5 separate regions of the Homo sapiens genome follow, and regions 1, 2, 4 and 5 are each linked to region 3. Evidence: promoter capture Hi-C in 16 types of primary human blood cells and fetal thymus (Javierre and others, 2016). All regions are on one chromosome and are shown on one strand. Each heading gives the region's core, a stretch centred on a gene start or on the middle of the fragment in contact. The rest is flanking DNA. Distances are from core to core; before and after follow the strand shown. Region 1 overlaps DLGAP1 (DLG associated protein 1). Region 2 overlaps DLGAP1 (DLG associated protein 1). Region 3 holds the start of LPIN2 (lipin 2). Region 4 overlaps DLGAP1 (DLG associated protein 1). Region 5 overlaps DLGAP1 (DLG associated protein 1).

The links. The method cuts DNA at HindIII sites, captures the fragments that hold promoters and counts their contacts. A CHiCAGO score of 5 or more calls a contact.
Region 1: a contact is called between a fragment that was not itself captured here and the fragment with the promoter of LPIN2 in region 3, in 9 of 17 cell types (total B cells, naive CD8 T cells, naive B cells and 6 more). The highest score is 15.7, in total B cells.
Region 2: a contact is called between a fragment that was not itself captured here and the fragment with the promoter of LPIN2 in region 3, in 2 of 17 cell types (activated CD4 T cells and total B cells). The highest score is 6.1, in activated CD4 T cells.
Region 4: a fragment that was not itself captured here is called in contact with the fragment with the promoter of LPIN2 in region 3 in 1 of 17 cell types (monocytes); the score reaches 6.8 in monocytes.
Region 5: a contact is called between a fragment that was not itself captured here and the fragment with the promoter of LPIN2 in region 3, in 1 of 17 cell types (naive CD8 T cells). The highest score is 5.2, in naive CD8 T cells.

What each region holds. Positions count from the first base shown.
Region 1 is chr18:3,666,219-3,668,918 of GRCh38, reverse strand. The region is part of intron 7 of DLGAP1 (DLG associated protein 1); the gene reads left to right. Among named protein-coding and RNA genes, the nearest start is that of DLGAP1-AS6, 15 kb to the right of the region's middle. The HindIII fragment of the contact is 2,330 bases long and covers 286-2,615 here.
Region 2 is chr18:3,629,014-3,631,737 of GRCh38, reverse strand. The region is part of intron 7 of DLGAP1 (DLG associated protein 1); the gene reads left to right. Among named protein-coding and RNA genes, the nearest start is that of DLGAP1-AS6, 23 kb to the left of the region's middle. The HindIII fragment of the contact is 716 bases long and covers 1,071-1,786 here.
Region 3 is chr18:3,011,769-3,014,468 of GRCh38, reverse strand. It overlaps LPIN2 (lipin 2), which reads left to right and starts at 1,325. Exons shown (of 20, transcript NM_001375808.2): 1 at 1,325-1,382. RefSeq lists a silencer at 935-1,884. The HindIII fragment of the contact is 8,581 bases long and covers 1-2,700 here.
Region 4 is chr18:3,722,154-3,724,923 of GRCh38, reverse strand. The region is part of intron 7 of DLGAP1 (DLG associated protein 1); the gene reads left to right. Among named protein-coding and RNA genes, the nearest start is that of DLGAP1-AS6, 71 kb to the right of the region's middle. The HindIII fragment of the contact is 1,719 bases long and covers 514-2,232 here.
Region 5 is chr18:3,574,970-3,577,768 of GRCh38, reverse strand. The region is part of intron 8 of DLGAP1 (DLG associated protein 1); the gene reads left to right. Among named protein-coding and RNA genes, the nearest start is that of DLGAP1-AS1, 18 kb to the left of the region's middle. RefSeq lists enhancers at 801-1,300, 1,301-1,802. The HindIII fragment of the contact is 2,599 bases long and covers 42-2,640 here.

The DNA of each region.
Region 1 (2,700 bases), core at 201-2,700, 650 kb before region 3:
TCCGCCTCCCAGGTTCAAACGATCTCCTACCTCAACCTCCCAAGTAGCACCTGCCACCTCACCCAGCTAATTTTTGTATTTTTAGTAGAGACGGGGTTTCACCATGTTGCCCAGGATGGCCTCGAACTCCTGGCCTTAGGTGATCTGCCTGCCTCGGCCTCCCAAAGTGCTGGGATTCCATGCGTGAGCCAGTGCACTGGGCCAAGCATTCTATTTCTCATTTATGGTGCGTCTATTTGCCACCACTGCTTCGACTGAGGATAGCTTGGCACAAGATGTGAAGCTTGTTTTGAAGGCCTGAGCAGAGATTTTTTTTTGCACAGTGGAGTCCAGTATTTTGCCAAAGGCACAGAAGAAGGTACGGAAGATGAAAAACTTTTCCCCAGCCTGGGCAACACAGTGAGACCCCCATCTCTACAAAAATTTGCAAATTAAAAAAATTAGCTGGGTGTGGTGGCATGTGCCTGTAGTCCTAGCTACTTGGAGGCTGAGGGGGGAGGATCACTTGAGCTCAGGACTTTGAGGCTGCAGTGAGCTATGATCACACCACTGCACTCCAGCCTGGATGACAGTGTGAGACCCTGTCTCTAGAAAACATGGAAGGAAGGAAAGAAGAAACGAAGGAAGGAAAAACTGTTCCTTTACCCTCTTAAGTTCAGTGTTTTGGGGGCTGCAAAAGAAAAGACAGGCTTCTGTTCATTATGTATGGGAGTTCTCAGGAAAATATGCCTCAAGGGGGCACTTACAATTTGGGGCTTATGTGCCATCTGAACAAGAGAAGGGGAGGAGGAGAAGGGCACTTAAGGAAAAATAAATTACTTTTAAGAAAGATCATGGGCCTTTAGGAGAATAGATGGGAGATGATAGTTTTGTGACAATGCCTGTTTAGGTGTGCTGTGGGCTTCTCTTTGGTATTAGAGTCAACTTTCTCTGGTTGCAGAAAAATCTGTGGGAAGGGATTTATGACAATTGAGTTTTGGGAGGAGGTTCTGCTTTGGGGCAGATAAGGAGTTTAGAAATAAGCCTCTTATCAAATGCCTTCAGCTCAAAATCATTTTTATGCCACAGTGGCATATTCTAGAGGAACCTGGGCCAAGGAAGACCACCCTTGGCCTTACTCCTGGAGTCATTCCGGCTCTGGCCTAGCCTTGGGGGTGGAACTCTGCCCTGGTGTGGACAAGAATGGACCCTCTCAGGCCCCAGCATATTCTCAGAGGTCCAGTCACACCGACCTGGAAGTGTCAGAGATGTACTTAATTCTAGGTTTGCACTGAGGCCAGGTAGAAACCGCAGTACCTGGAGCATTTCTTTGTGTTTTGGGGTTTTAATAGACTTGGCCAGGAACCAAGTCCAAGCCCTTTCAACATCACAGAATGTTTTTTAATCTTCCCTAGTCCACCGGAGTGGAAAACTCACATAGTTCTCATCATTCACAAACACTTAAAGGGTGTTTACTAGGTACTAGATGGTATATGCTACTATTATCAGCCTCATTTTGTAAGTGGAGGAGACAAAGAAAGGTTAAGAGGGTTTTCCAAGTTCACATGGATGGTAAGCAGCACAGTCAATATTTGTTGACTGTGAGGCCGAGGCAGGTGGATCGTTCGAGGTCAGGAGTTTGAGACCAGCCTGGCCAACATGGTAAAACCCCGCCTCTACTAAAAGTACAAAAATAAGCTGGGTGGTGGTGGCGCATGTCTGTAATCTCAGCTACTCAGAAGGCTGAGGCAAGAGAATCGCTTGAGTCTGGGAGGTGGAGGTTGCAGTGAGCTGAGATGCACCACTGCACTCCAGCCTGGGCAACAGAGTGAGACCCTGACTCCCAAAAAAAAAAAAATTGACAAATTAGCAACCGGGCACAGTGGCTCAGGCCTGTAATCCCAGAGCTTTGGGAAGCCAAAGCAGGAGGATCACTTGAGGTCAGGAGTACCAGCCTGGACAACACAGTGAGACCTCATCTCTAAAACAAAACAAAAAAATTTAAAAATAAGAAAATTAGCAGGGTGTAGTGGTGGGCGCCTGTAGTTGCAGCTACTACGGAGGCTGAGGCAGGAGGCTCCCTTGAGCCTAGGAGTTCAAGATTGCAGTGAGCTATGATTGCACCACTGCACTGCAGCTTGAATGACACAGCAAGACCCTATCTCTAAAACAAATTTAAAAATTGTTTAAAAAAAAACTTTTTAAATTGACAGATTAGAATCTGATCAGTTTCTTTCCAGAGCTACTTGAACATCTCAGGAGATTCTGCTAAGGATGGAAAAGGAAGGAGTTTTAATTTCAAAGTTTCATTCCATGTCTTGTCAAACCAAGTCTAGATTTGCCATTTAGAACTGCATTCTCTGATCCTGTGTTTTAAGAGAGGTTTCTCCATGTAGATGAAACCAGGAGCTGCATCCTTCCTCGGATTGGTAGGTGTTCCATGGGCTTTATCTGTGCGGCGTAATGACAGCACACAAACGCCAGGGGGCAATGCAGTTTCACCGAAGAATCCTAGGAAACTCGGGTCTGGCTTTGACTAAGAACATTGGCAGGATCCTGGGGCAAAGGTGGAAATCCTTACTAAAAAGAGTTCCGCCAAGGAAAAAATATGTTTAAAAATCCTTTCTTTGAAAGCTTCCTGCATTGTCATCAAAATTGCCCTTCAGTATTTGTGCACAGCTGGAAGTTTTGTGATATTATTTGCAAAAGATTTACTTTTCG
Region 2 (2,724 bases), core at 179-2,678, 620 kb before region 3:
TCTTGCTTTGTTGCCCAGGCTGGAGTACAGTGGTGCAATCACGGCTTACTGCAGTTTCTACCTCTCAGGCTCAAGCAATTCTCCTGCCTCAGCCTCTCGAGTAGCTGGGACTATAGGCACACGCCACCATGCCTAGCTAATATTTTTACTATTTGTAGAGTCAAGGTCTCACTATGTTGCCCAGGCTGGTCTTGAACTCGGAGCTCAAGTGATCCTCCTGCCTCAGCTTCCCAAAGTGCAAAGATTACAGACATGAGCCACCACAACTGTCCAGAATATTTTTTAAAAGACAGAATTAAAAATACATATAACCCAGTAGAAGTCAGGAGTTAAAGTGTTTTAAGTACCTTGTATTTTCTAAGAAAAGGTTAAGGGTATTAAGTCTAGATATTAGTAAGTTAAATATGTGGATTAGAATTTCTAGACTAACTCCTAAAGTCATATAAAAAGAGTCAGCCAGGCACGGTGGCTCACACCTGTAATGCCAGCACTTTGGAAGGCCAAGGTGGGCAGATCACCTGAGGTCAGGAGTTCAAGGCTAGCCTGACCAACATGGTGAAACCCCATCTCTACTTAAAAAAAAAAAAAAATTAACTGGGCGTGCTGGCACATGCCTGTAGTCCCAGCTACTTGGGAGGCTGAGACAGGAGAATTGCTTGAACCCAGCAGGCAGAGGATGCAATGAGCCGAAATTGCACCACTGCACCCCAGCCTGGGCGACAGAAGGAGACTCAGTCTCATAAAAAAAATAAAAATAAAAAATAAATAAAAAGATTCAAAACTGCAAATTAGAAAGGTGTCAATTCACTTAAAACTGATCTATAAATTTAATGCAATATCAACCAAAAACCTGAATTTTGTTGTTGTTGTTGTGTTTTAGTTTTTGCAAAGTGCCACATACAGCCAAGATACTCTTGAAAAGCAGCAAAATTAGAGGATTTGCCCTATTGAGCATCAAGATTCATAATTAGCCTATAGTAATAAGACATGGTGTTAGCACAAGGACAGGGCAGTAGCCCAACAGAACAGACTACAGATTACAGAAATAGTCCCGTGCTCATATGGAAGCTTGAGAGGCATCTTTGCAATTCAGTGGGGAAGGGACAATATTCAGTAGATGGTGCTGTCACTGAGGAGTATTTATTTGGAAAAAAAATAAAATAAAATTGGACTATACCTTTGTATTAGCCAGGGTTCTTCAGAGACACAGAGACAACAGGAGAGAGAGAAAGACAAAGATTTATTATAGGGAATTGGGGCACACAGTTATAGAGGCCGAGAATTCCCAAGATCTCGAGTCATCAAGCTGAGGACCCAGGAGACCTGATGTGTACTTCCAGCTTGAATCCAGGAGCCTGAGAACCAGGAGAGCTGATGGATAGTTTCAGTCTGAGGACCTGCAGGCTCACAACCCAAGGAGGACCAATGTTTCAGGCCAAGTCTGAAGGCTGGAAAAAACCGATGCCCCAACTTAACCAGTCGGACAGGAGAAATTCTCTCATATTCAGTCTTTTTATTCTATTCCGGTCTTCAATTGATTGAATGAGGCCCAACCACACTGGGGAGAGCAATCTGCTGTACTCAGTCTACTGATTCCAATGTAATACTCTCACTTGGAAGCACCATCACAGACACACACAGAATAATATTTGGCCAAATGTCTGGGTACCACATGGCCCAGTCAAGTTGACACATAAAATTAACCATTACAACTTTATACTCCAGCCCTCCTAAGCAATTCTAGTTGAATTTAAGACCTAAATGTGAAAGGCCAAACAATAAAGCTTCCCAAAATGATATGGGGGTAGGGGAAGTTTCTGAAATAAAATATGAAGAGCATGAAAATTTTTAAAAAGATTGCTACATTTGCCTATTGTGTTCAAACTTTGCCCTTCACAAGAAAGGGACATCGAAATATCAAAACCTGCAAAAAGTGCTCATCTCATTAGGAATCCAAAATAAGTAAATTAAATCCACAGTGAGATACCAATACACACCTACCAGGTTAGCAAAAAATTATTTCATTATTTTTTATTTATTTTTATTTATTTATTTATTTATTTTTTGAGACAGAGTCTCACTCTGTTGCCCAGGCTGGAGTGCGGTGGCGCGATCTCGGCTCACTGCAAGCTCCGCCTCCCGGGTTCACGCCATTCTCCTGCCTCAGCCTCCCGAGTAGCTGGGACTACAGGCGCCCACCAACACGCCCGGCTAATTTTTTTGTATTTTTAGTAGAGACAGGGTTTCAGCGTGTTAGCCAGGATGGTCTCGATCTCCTGACCTCGTGATCCGCCCGCCTCAGCCTCCCAAAGTGCTGGGATTACAGGGTTGAGCCACCGCGCCCAGCCTATTTTTTATTTTTATTTATTTGTTTGTAGACAGAGCCTCACTTTGTCACTCAAGCTGGAGTGCAGTGCCACAATCATGGCTCATTGCAGCCTCAACCTCCCAGGTTCAAGTGATCCTCCCACCTCAGCTATTTATTTTTTTAGAGATGGCGTCTTGCTGTGTTACCCAGGCTAGTCTCAAACTCCTGTCTTGGCCTCCCAAAGTGCTGGGATTGTAGGTGTGAGCCACTGTGCCTGGCCACAAAAAATTATAAAGTGTAACAATATCAAATGTTGGCAAAGATATGCAGCAGCAATAGGAATTCTCATGCACTGTTATGGGAGTGTATGTTGGGACAATATCCACATTTTTAAAAATATTATTTGACATTATGAA
Region 3 (2,700 bases), core at 76-2,575:
TTTTTTTTTTTTTTGAGACAGAGTTTCGCTCCCAGGCTGGAGTGAAGTGGCGCAATCTCTGCTCACTGCAACCTCCGCCCCCCGGGTTCAAGTGATTCTACCGCCTCTGCCTCCTAAGTAGCTGGGATTGCAGCCAACATGCCCGGCTAATTTTTGTATTTTTAGTAGAGGCGGGGTTTTGCCACGTTGGCCAGGCTAGTCTCCAACTCCTGACCTCAGGCGATCGACCCGCCTTGGCCTCCCAAAGTGCTGGGATTACCGGCGTGAGCCACCGCGCCGGGCCCCATTTCTTTTCTTTCTGAGACGGAGTCTCTCTGTCGCCAGGCTGGAGTGCAATAGCGCCATCTCGGCTCACTGCAATCTCCGCCTCCCGGGTTCAACTGATTCTCCTGCCTCAGCCTCCTGAGAAGCTGGGATTACAGGCACGCGCCACCACGCCCGGCTGGTTTTTTGTATTTTTAGTAGAGACGGGGGTTTCACCATGTTGGCCAGGCTGGTCTTGAACTCCTGACCTCAAGTGATCCGCCTGCCTCGGCCTTCCAAAGTGCTAGGATTACAGGCGTGAGCCACCCATTTCTTAAAAAGTATATTTTAATGCTGGGGACGGTGGCTCATGCCTGTAATTCCAGTACTTTGGGAGGCCGAGGTGCGGGGATGCTTGAGCCCAGGAGTTGGAGACCAGCCGGGGTAACAGAGCGATAAAAAGAATAAACAAAAAACAACAGAACCCCGGCATATTTTTAAAAATGAGTTGTGTAATAGGATTTTTTTTTTTTCGGTGGAGATGTAAGTAAGCAAAGGAGATGTGCTACTAGTGATCAAAAGGGGATTATAAAACATTCATTCCCTAGACTTTTTTTGCACTTTAACATTCCTTTTTGGCAATTGGGCTCTCAGTCCCACGTGACCTGCCGCAGGGTTGCCATGGGGACCGGAAGAAACTTTTTTTTTTTAAAACAAAGTAAGGCTCCTGTCGCCCGAGGCACTAGAAAATCGAGGCCCCGCCCTCACTTGGCCAGGGGCCCGGGCGCGCAGCCCAGGGACTGGGAGCGGTGAGAAGCCGCACGCCTGGCGCTCGGCGGCGGGGGCGCGGCGCGCGGCCGGGAGCGCGCGTCACGTGGCTGGGGCGGGGCCTGCGCGCTGCCCGCCCGCCAGCTGCCGGCTCGGCCGCCGCAGCCGCGGCGTCCCATTCATGAGGGCCGCCCGACTCAGCTGCGGCCCAGGCGGCTTCCAAGGCAGCGGCGGCTGCGGGCGCTCCGACCCCGCGCGCGCCCCCGACCGGCCCCGCCCCCTCGGCTTCCCTCCCCGGCGGGTCCTAGCCGTCGCAGTCCAGCCGCCGCCTGCCCTCAGCCGCCCGCTGGCCGGGAGCGGAGCCCCTGTGGGTAAGTGGGCGCGGGCCGGGCTCCTCGCAGGCGTCCCTCCGGGGCTGGCGGTGAGTGTCTGCGCCTGGGGGCTTCCCTTGGCGCGGGCCCGGGGCTGTCCTGCCGGAGGCCGGGACCCTCCGGGGCGGCGCGGGTTGAGCCGCCCCTCCTCGCGCCGCGGTCCCCGCTTCCCGGTCCTCGCGTCCCAGTCCCCGCCTCGCCGCGACCGCGCCACGTAGACGCGGCCCCTACCGCCGCCGCCGCAGGACGGACCGGCGGGGTGCGCGGGGAGCCGGGGGCGTCGGGGCGTCAGTGGTGGCTGCTGAGGACTCTGAACCCGCGCAGTTCCCTCGCCGCCGCCCTGGGGATGGTTACCCGAGACCACCCCTACCCCTGGGTTTGGGGCGCGGAGGGGAGTGCGGAAGGCGCGCGGGAGGCCGCGTCTCCATCCCGCCCCCGGCCCTGCGGGAGGGGGCGCCGGGCACGTGATCTGCGGCGAGGCGGGGGCCGCCGAGTTGCTGGTGTTTCTTCCCCGCCGCGCTTTGCCCCGTACCTCCGCCTTCAAGCTGTGTGGACCGGATTCAAATGTGGTTAGTTTTCTCAAAGCCCCCCAGCCCCCGGTGCAGATCTTAATTTGTGAGGAACACGTTCAGATACAGTTTGTACTGAGAGCCTCTCTGTCCACTTCTAACGCCAGCGGATCACCATTTTCTCCACTCGCCTGAACATTTTAAGACTCTTTTCATTGAAAATTCAAGATGACATTTTTTAGGCATAATTATGCAAACCAGTACCAGAAAGATCACCCTTCCTTTCCGAAAAGTACTGGAACTCTGAATACTTGGAAATGCTTTGAAGGACTACTTAGTAAATGGCCAAACTAATTTTTAATGCACATTTGGGGCTTACCCATTTTTTTTTTAATTGAAAACGAGGCTCTAGACTTGGTGTCAAGGTAGGTCCTGTTGAATGAAGTTCTTTACCCAGTAGTGATGATGGGTGTTACTGTTTATTAAAACTTGGCCTGGCTAGATTATAATGTTTTGACAATACAAAGTCGGTTTTGAAATACATTTTGAAATATTTACGAATTATTTAGTGGCCCATACTGGTTTATGTTTTAACGGTCTGGTGTTGATCGTTCTTAGTGGCTTCAGATTGAGAAGAAGTGGCAGGTGATGCTGAAGCGGGGGAGAAGCGGCAGAGCCGGCCACACAGTGCAGGGGATGGAGACAGGTGCTGGGCTGGTCCTCCTGCAGCATCCTCAGTTGTTGGAGGGCAGTCATCCTCAGGCCGTACCCAGCCAGAGAAGAAAAAGAACAGTGTGAAGCCACGTGTG
Region 4 (2,770 bases), core at 124-2,623, 710 kb before region 3:
TTGGGTTTTTTTTTTTTTTGAGACAGAGTTTCCCTGTGTCACCTAGGCTGGAGTGCAGTGGTATGATTATAACTTACTGCAGCCTCCAGCTCCTGGACTGCGATCCTCCACCTCAGCCTCCTGAACTCAGGTAGCTGGGAATACAGGTGCACATCACCACGCCTGGCTAATTTTTTTTTCATTTTTTGAGATGGGATCTTGCTCTGTCACCCAGGCTGGAGTGCAATGGTGCAATCATGGCTCACTGCAACCTCCGCCTCAAGTGATCCTCCCACCTCAGCCTCCTGAGTAGCTGGGATTACAGGCACATGCCACCACACCCGGATAATTTTTTGTATTTTTGGTAGAGATGGGGTTTCACCATGTTGGCCAGGCTGGTCTCAAACTCCTGGGCTCCAGTGATCCACCCGCCTTGGCCTCCCAAAGTTCTGAGATTACAGGCATGAGCCACCACACCCAACAGATTCTCTGGTCTTTTAAGAAAATTCTTCACTTTGAAATTCCAAAGAAGCTTTGTGTAGCAATAATACAAGTTTTATAAAGAGTAAATAGGTTCATTTGCCACACTGTTACTCTTAAAGTTTGGCCTGTGTGCTATATTTTGCTCTGTTGCCCAGGCTGCAGTGCAGTGGTGTGATTATGGCTCACTGCAGCCTTAACCTCCCAGACCCAAGTGATCCTCTCACCTCAACCTCTAGAGTAGCTGGGACCACAGGCACATGCCACTGTGCCCGGCTAATTTTTAAAAAACAATTTGTAGAGGTAGAGACGAAGACTTGCTATGTTGCTCAGGCTGGTCTCAAACTCCAGAGTTCAAGTGATCCTCCCACCTCAACATCCCAAAGTGCTAGGATTACAGGTGTGAGCCACTATGCCCCACCAATACTCTAATTCTCTTATTAGAGGAATTTATTAAACAATGATGGAGTTGAACTGTTCTCCTCTCCTTCACATAGTTCAGGAAGGGGAGTAAGAACCTAGGGTACAGTGTCCCCCATGGGAAAGCAGTGCTTACCCTCTTGGATGTAGCTTGGGACCACAGTAACAGAAGTATTTACAGTTTGATTTTTGTAACAGGAGAAATCATATTTTCCTCTAAGTTGAGACACATTCTTCCATCTTCCTACCTTACACCCTCCCCCATTCCTGGCAGCTCTGAAACACTTGCTCAAGCCTTGCTTAATATAGCAAAAGCAGCTAATCTGTTGATCATCTGAGGTCAGAACTAACATTCAGAAAGTTCTCCTAAGGGTTTGGGTCTTCATTCCAAGTCAGTCATCCTACCCAGGAGACCACACCTCACCCACCTTCATGCACTCCACACTCCAATCCCACACACCTTGCTCCCCACTCCCCCCCCACACAAACCCTAAACCCTAAGCAGAATGACATTAAGATAATAATTTGTAATTGCAATACACACAGCAGGCATTCAAAAATGGAAGAAGAAAGGAAAAGCTGCAGAAAAATCTTTAAGTACTCCACAAACTGCACAAGCCACAGACGATTGAATAATCAAGCTGACTTTCCTAGGGAAAATAGCATTGCTATTAAAACAAGCTGAGTCATCAAATATTAGCAGTTATAAACAAACTTCTACATCATCCAGTCTAGTGGTCTGCAAACATACCCTATGGACCAAGTCCAACCTGCTGCCTGTTTTTGTAAATTAACTGTCATCAGGCATAACTCACACCCATTTGTTTACCTGCTATCTGTAAACAGAAGTTTCAGCGAATAGTTCCCTCTTTTAAAAGCAGAGTTGAATAGTTCCTGCAGAGTAGTCTCTGCAGGAATGTTTTGGCCCACAAAGCCAAATACATTTATGATGTGGCCCTTTACAGAGAAAGTCTGCTGCACCTATCTAATTCATCAAACCCATTCAAAGGTAAGGAAACTAAGGCCCAAAGTGGTGAACCTCCAACAGGAGGCAAAGTCAGAATAAGAAGCTCAGGTCTCTCAGTAAACAGCCCTTTGTTCCTTCGGTGCCCGGCTCTACAAATTATTTATTGCTTGAGTATGAAGTTAATCTGAACTTCAGTTTCTTCATGTATAAAATGAGATTACAATGCTGATCCTCTTCCCAGCATTAATGACCATTTTTGGAGAATTCTTAGAGTTCGGGGAAAGCTCAGTTCTTTCTGCCAAGCACCAAGTTAATTAATAGATCCTTGTTATAAAGCAGGGAGGCAAAGGTTCAGAAGTCAAAGGGACAGATATCAATCAGAAGCTTTCTGAACAAAGCACCTTTCTTTTCTATTCAAGATAAAATCAAATAATAAATATTCAGATATTGCCTGGACTGGTTCCTTGTCCCTCTGCTAATGAGTTTTCCTTCTTTGAATCTCTCCAAGTGGAACTGGAGACATCGCGTACTTCCACCCTTGCAGGCTCAGACGAAAGAAAAAAGAGCAAGATTTATGACACAACCTACTCCTTTTGTGAGGCAACTTATCCTTGTCTGCTGTTACATTGAAGGAAACTGACAGTGATGATTTGCAGGAGACTTTTGGTTATAACTTCTCCTTTCTTCTGTGGGGCACTCGAGGTAGGATTCCTCTATAATATTAGGAAGTCATAAAAATGCAAAAGTCCTATCAGGCACAGAGCAAGATTTAAAATCTGAAGAATACCATGTGCTTCCATCTCCTGCAGTTGTTTTGAAGTACATAAATCACCTCTTGGGAACGGAGTGCCAACCTTGAGGGGCTATGCCTCACAGACAGCCAACAAGCAAGTCCACCTTTGCCCACATTCGGGGTTATTGCAT
Region 5 (2,799 bases), core at 92-2,591, 560 kb before region 3:
GTAAAAAATCACAGATAAATTTATATACAATGACTAAAGCTTAGAAGATGCTAATACTTGATGCAAATGAGCTGGCAGTTCTAGGACCAGTGGGGATGAGGCTTGGACCAGGCAGAGAACAATATCCTCCATTCTTGTTCTGATGAACCCTCCTTCTTTTCTGTCTCCTCTTTTTCATGCATTGAGGATCGTGCTTCTTCAGGGAAATAACTACCATGCGTCTTCTGAACAAATTTCATTGGATAGTTTTATACCACCGCATAGTAGAAGACACAACATCCTACTTTGGCTGACATCCTAAGCGTTTTTAATTTACAAAAGTGTAGTCATATGGAATTGGTTAAAATCTCATCCAGGAAATCACAGACCAGGCTCACTTCTTAAACAGAGACAGTTTAATACACAAAATTGGTTACACAGGTATGGGAAGACTGAGAGAGCAATAAAAGGAACAAGAAGGAAAAGGTGGGGTTACCAGAAGTTTAGGAGCTCAGAAGAAAGGCCTGGGGTAGCCCGTGCTCAGACTGTGAGGTGGCAGGGTCACGTGGTGCTGGGACTTCAGAGTGGTGCAGAGCAGCTGGTGCATGGGCTGTTGAAAGGAGCTGAAGGGCCAGGCACGGTGGCGCACCCCTGTAATCCCTGCACTTTGGGAGGCCGAGGTGGGTGGATCACCTGAGGTGAGGAGTTTGAGACCAACCTGACCAACATGGTGAAACCCCATCTCTACTAAATAAAAAAATTAGCTGGGTGTGGTGGTGCATGCCTGTAATCTCACCTACTTAGGAGGCTGAGGCAGAAGAATCACTTGAACCTGGGAGACGGAGGTTGCAGTGAGCCGAGATTGTGCCATTGCACTCCAGCCTGGGCAACAAGAGTGAAACGCCGTCTCAAGAAAAAAAAAAAGGCCGGGCGTAGTGGCTCACGCCTGTAATCCCAGCACTTTGGGAGGCCAAGGTGGGCGGATCACCTGAGGTTGGGAGTTCGAGATCAGCCTGACCAACATGGAGAAACGCCATCTCTACTAAAAATACAAAAAATTAGCCGGGCATGGTGGTGCATGCCTGTAATTCCAGCTACTCGGGAGGCTGAGGCAGGAGAATCGTTTGAACCTGGGAGGCGAAGGTTGCAGTGAGCCAAGATCGCGCCATTGCACTCCAGCCTGGGCAACAAGAGCGAAGCTCCATCTCAAAAAAAAAAAAAAAGGAGCTGGAGCTGGCTGCGCTGGCTCATGCCTATAATCCCAGCACTTTGGGAGGTCAAGGCAGGCGGATCACAAGGTCAGGAGTTCAATACCAGCCTGGCCAAGATGGTGAAACCCAGTCTCTACTAAAAATACAAAAAAATTAGTTGGGCATGGTGGTGGGCACCTGTAATATCAAGTACTCGGGAGGCTGAGACAGAGAATTGATTGAACCCTGCAGGCGGAGGTTGCAGTGAGCCGAGATCGCGCCACTGCACTCCAGCCTGGGCGACAGAGCAAGACTCCGTCTCAAAAAAAAAAAAAAAGGAGTTGGAGGGTGGAGCCATAGCTACCTTCACATGCAAGAGTGATGCCAGAAGAAGGTGGAAACAGGAAGGAAGTTTCTTCTCTTCTTCCACCTTCCTTTGTTAGAACACAGCTGGAAACCAGCTGACAAGGAGGCCTAGGAAATGTAGTTTGGGAGTCCTGGCCGCAGTGTCGAAGAGCAGCTAAATGTAGAAGATGGGCTCGAGGCTGCTAGACAGTAAGCAAATCACCAAAACAAAGCTCTTTGTCTGATATAATAAATAAATGTGCTGTTTCCTTCAATCAGCATGTGTGTTAAAAGACCTAAAATGGACATGATCCGTGTGCAGTCTTGATTCCTATGTTCTTATGGGAGCACCTTGTGGCACTCTGCTTCTAGAATATTTAAAGATATAAATTTCTGTATAATATGGCACCAAAACAAGTCAAGTACTTTATCTGGTGTTTTTCTTGATACCCTAGTGCTGGGGGTGATGGGGGCATTGTGGGGACTGGCTGCTCTGGATTTAGAGCAAAGTTGTATGTCTAAACTAAAAGTCATAGGCACCTTTAGGATAAATTTTTTTTGTTTTCTTATAATTACAAAGTGAGTAATTCATGTATACAGGATTATTATAAAGAGTTCGTACAGTACAGGAGTGTATAGAGCAAAATATGAGATTTCCCCTTCTTTCCCACTCCCACCTCGTATTCCTACTGTACTCCCCAAAGGTGACCCCTGGCAACAGTTGGTTACATTGTCTTTTAGTCTCTCAAGAGTAATTCTGACTACAGATGAGTTTCATGTACTACCTTTAGGCCCTGACCCCTCTACTTCCTGATGGTACATTATGATTTCCATATATTATCATTTAACTCAATTTGCAAAACAGATGAAAAGAACAGCTTAATCTTCACATTATATGAAATGCAATGGCTTTCTCTATTCTTTGAATTAAAAATAAAAGAAAATTTAGTTATTTTAGATCATACTCTTAAGACTTATTTATTTCCTTTAATACCTGTCCAAGTGTACAGATATATATTAATATTTTATGCTTATGTGAAGAAATAAGTCCAACTGCAGATAATGAAACTTGTCTCTGCCAAGTAAAGTACAAACCAAAGGAATGGTTACTATTTGAAAGAAAGCTTTGAAAAATAAAAAGGCCCATGCATGGTGGCTCACGCCTGTAATCCCAGCACTTTGGGAGGCCTAGGTGGGCAGATCACGAGGTCAGGAGATTGAAACCATCCTGGCTAACATGGTGAAACCCCGTCTCTACTAAAGATACAAAAAATTAGCTGGGCGT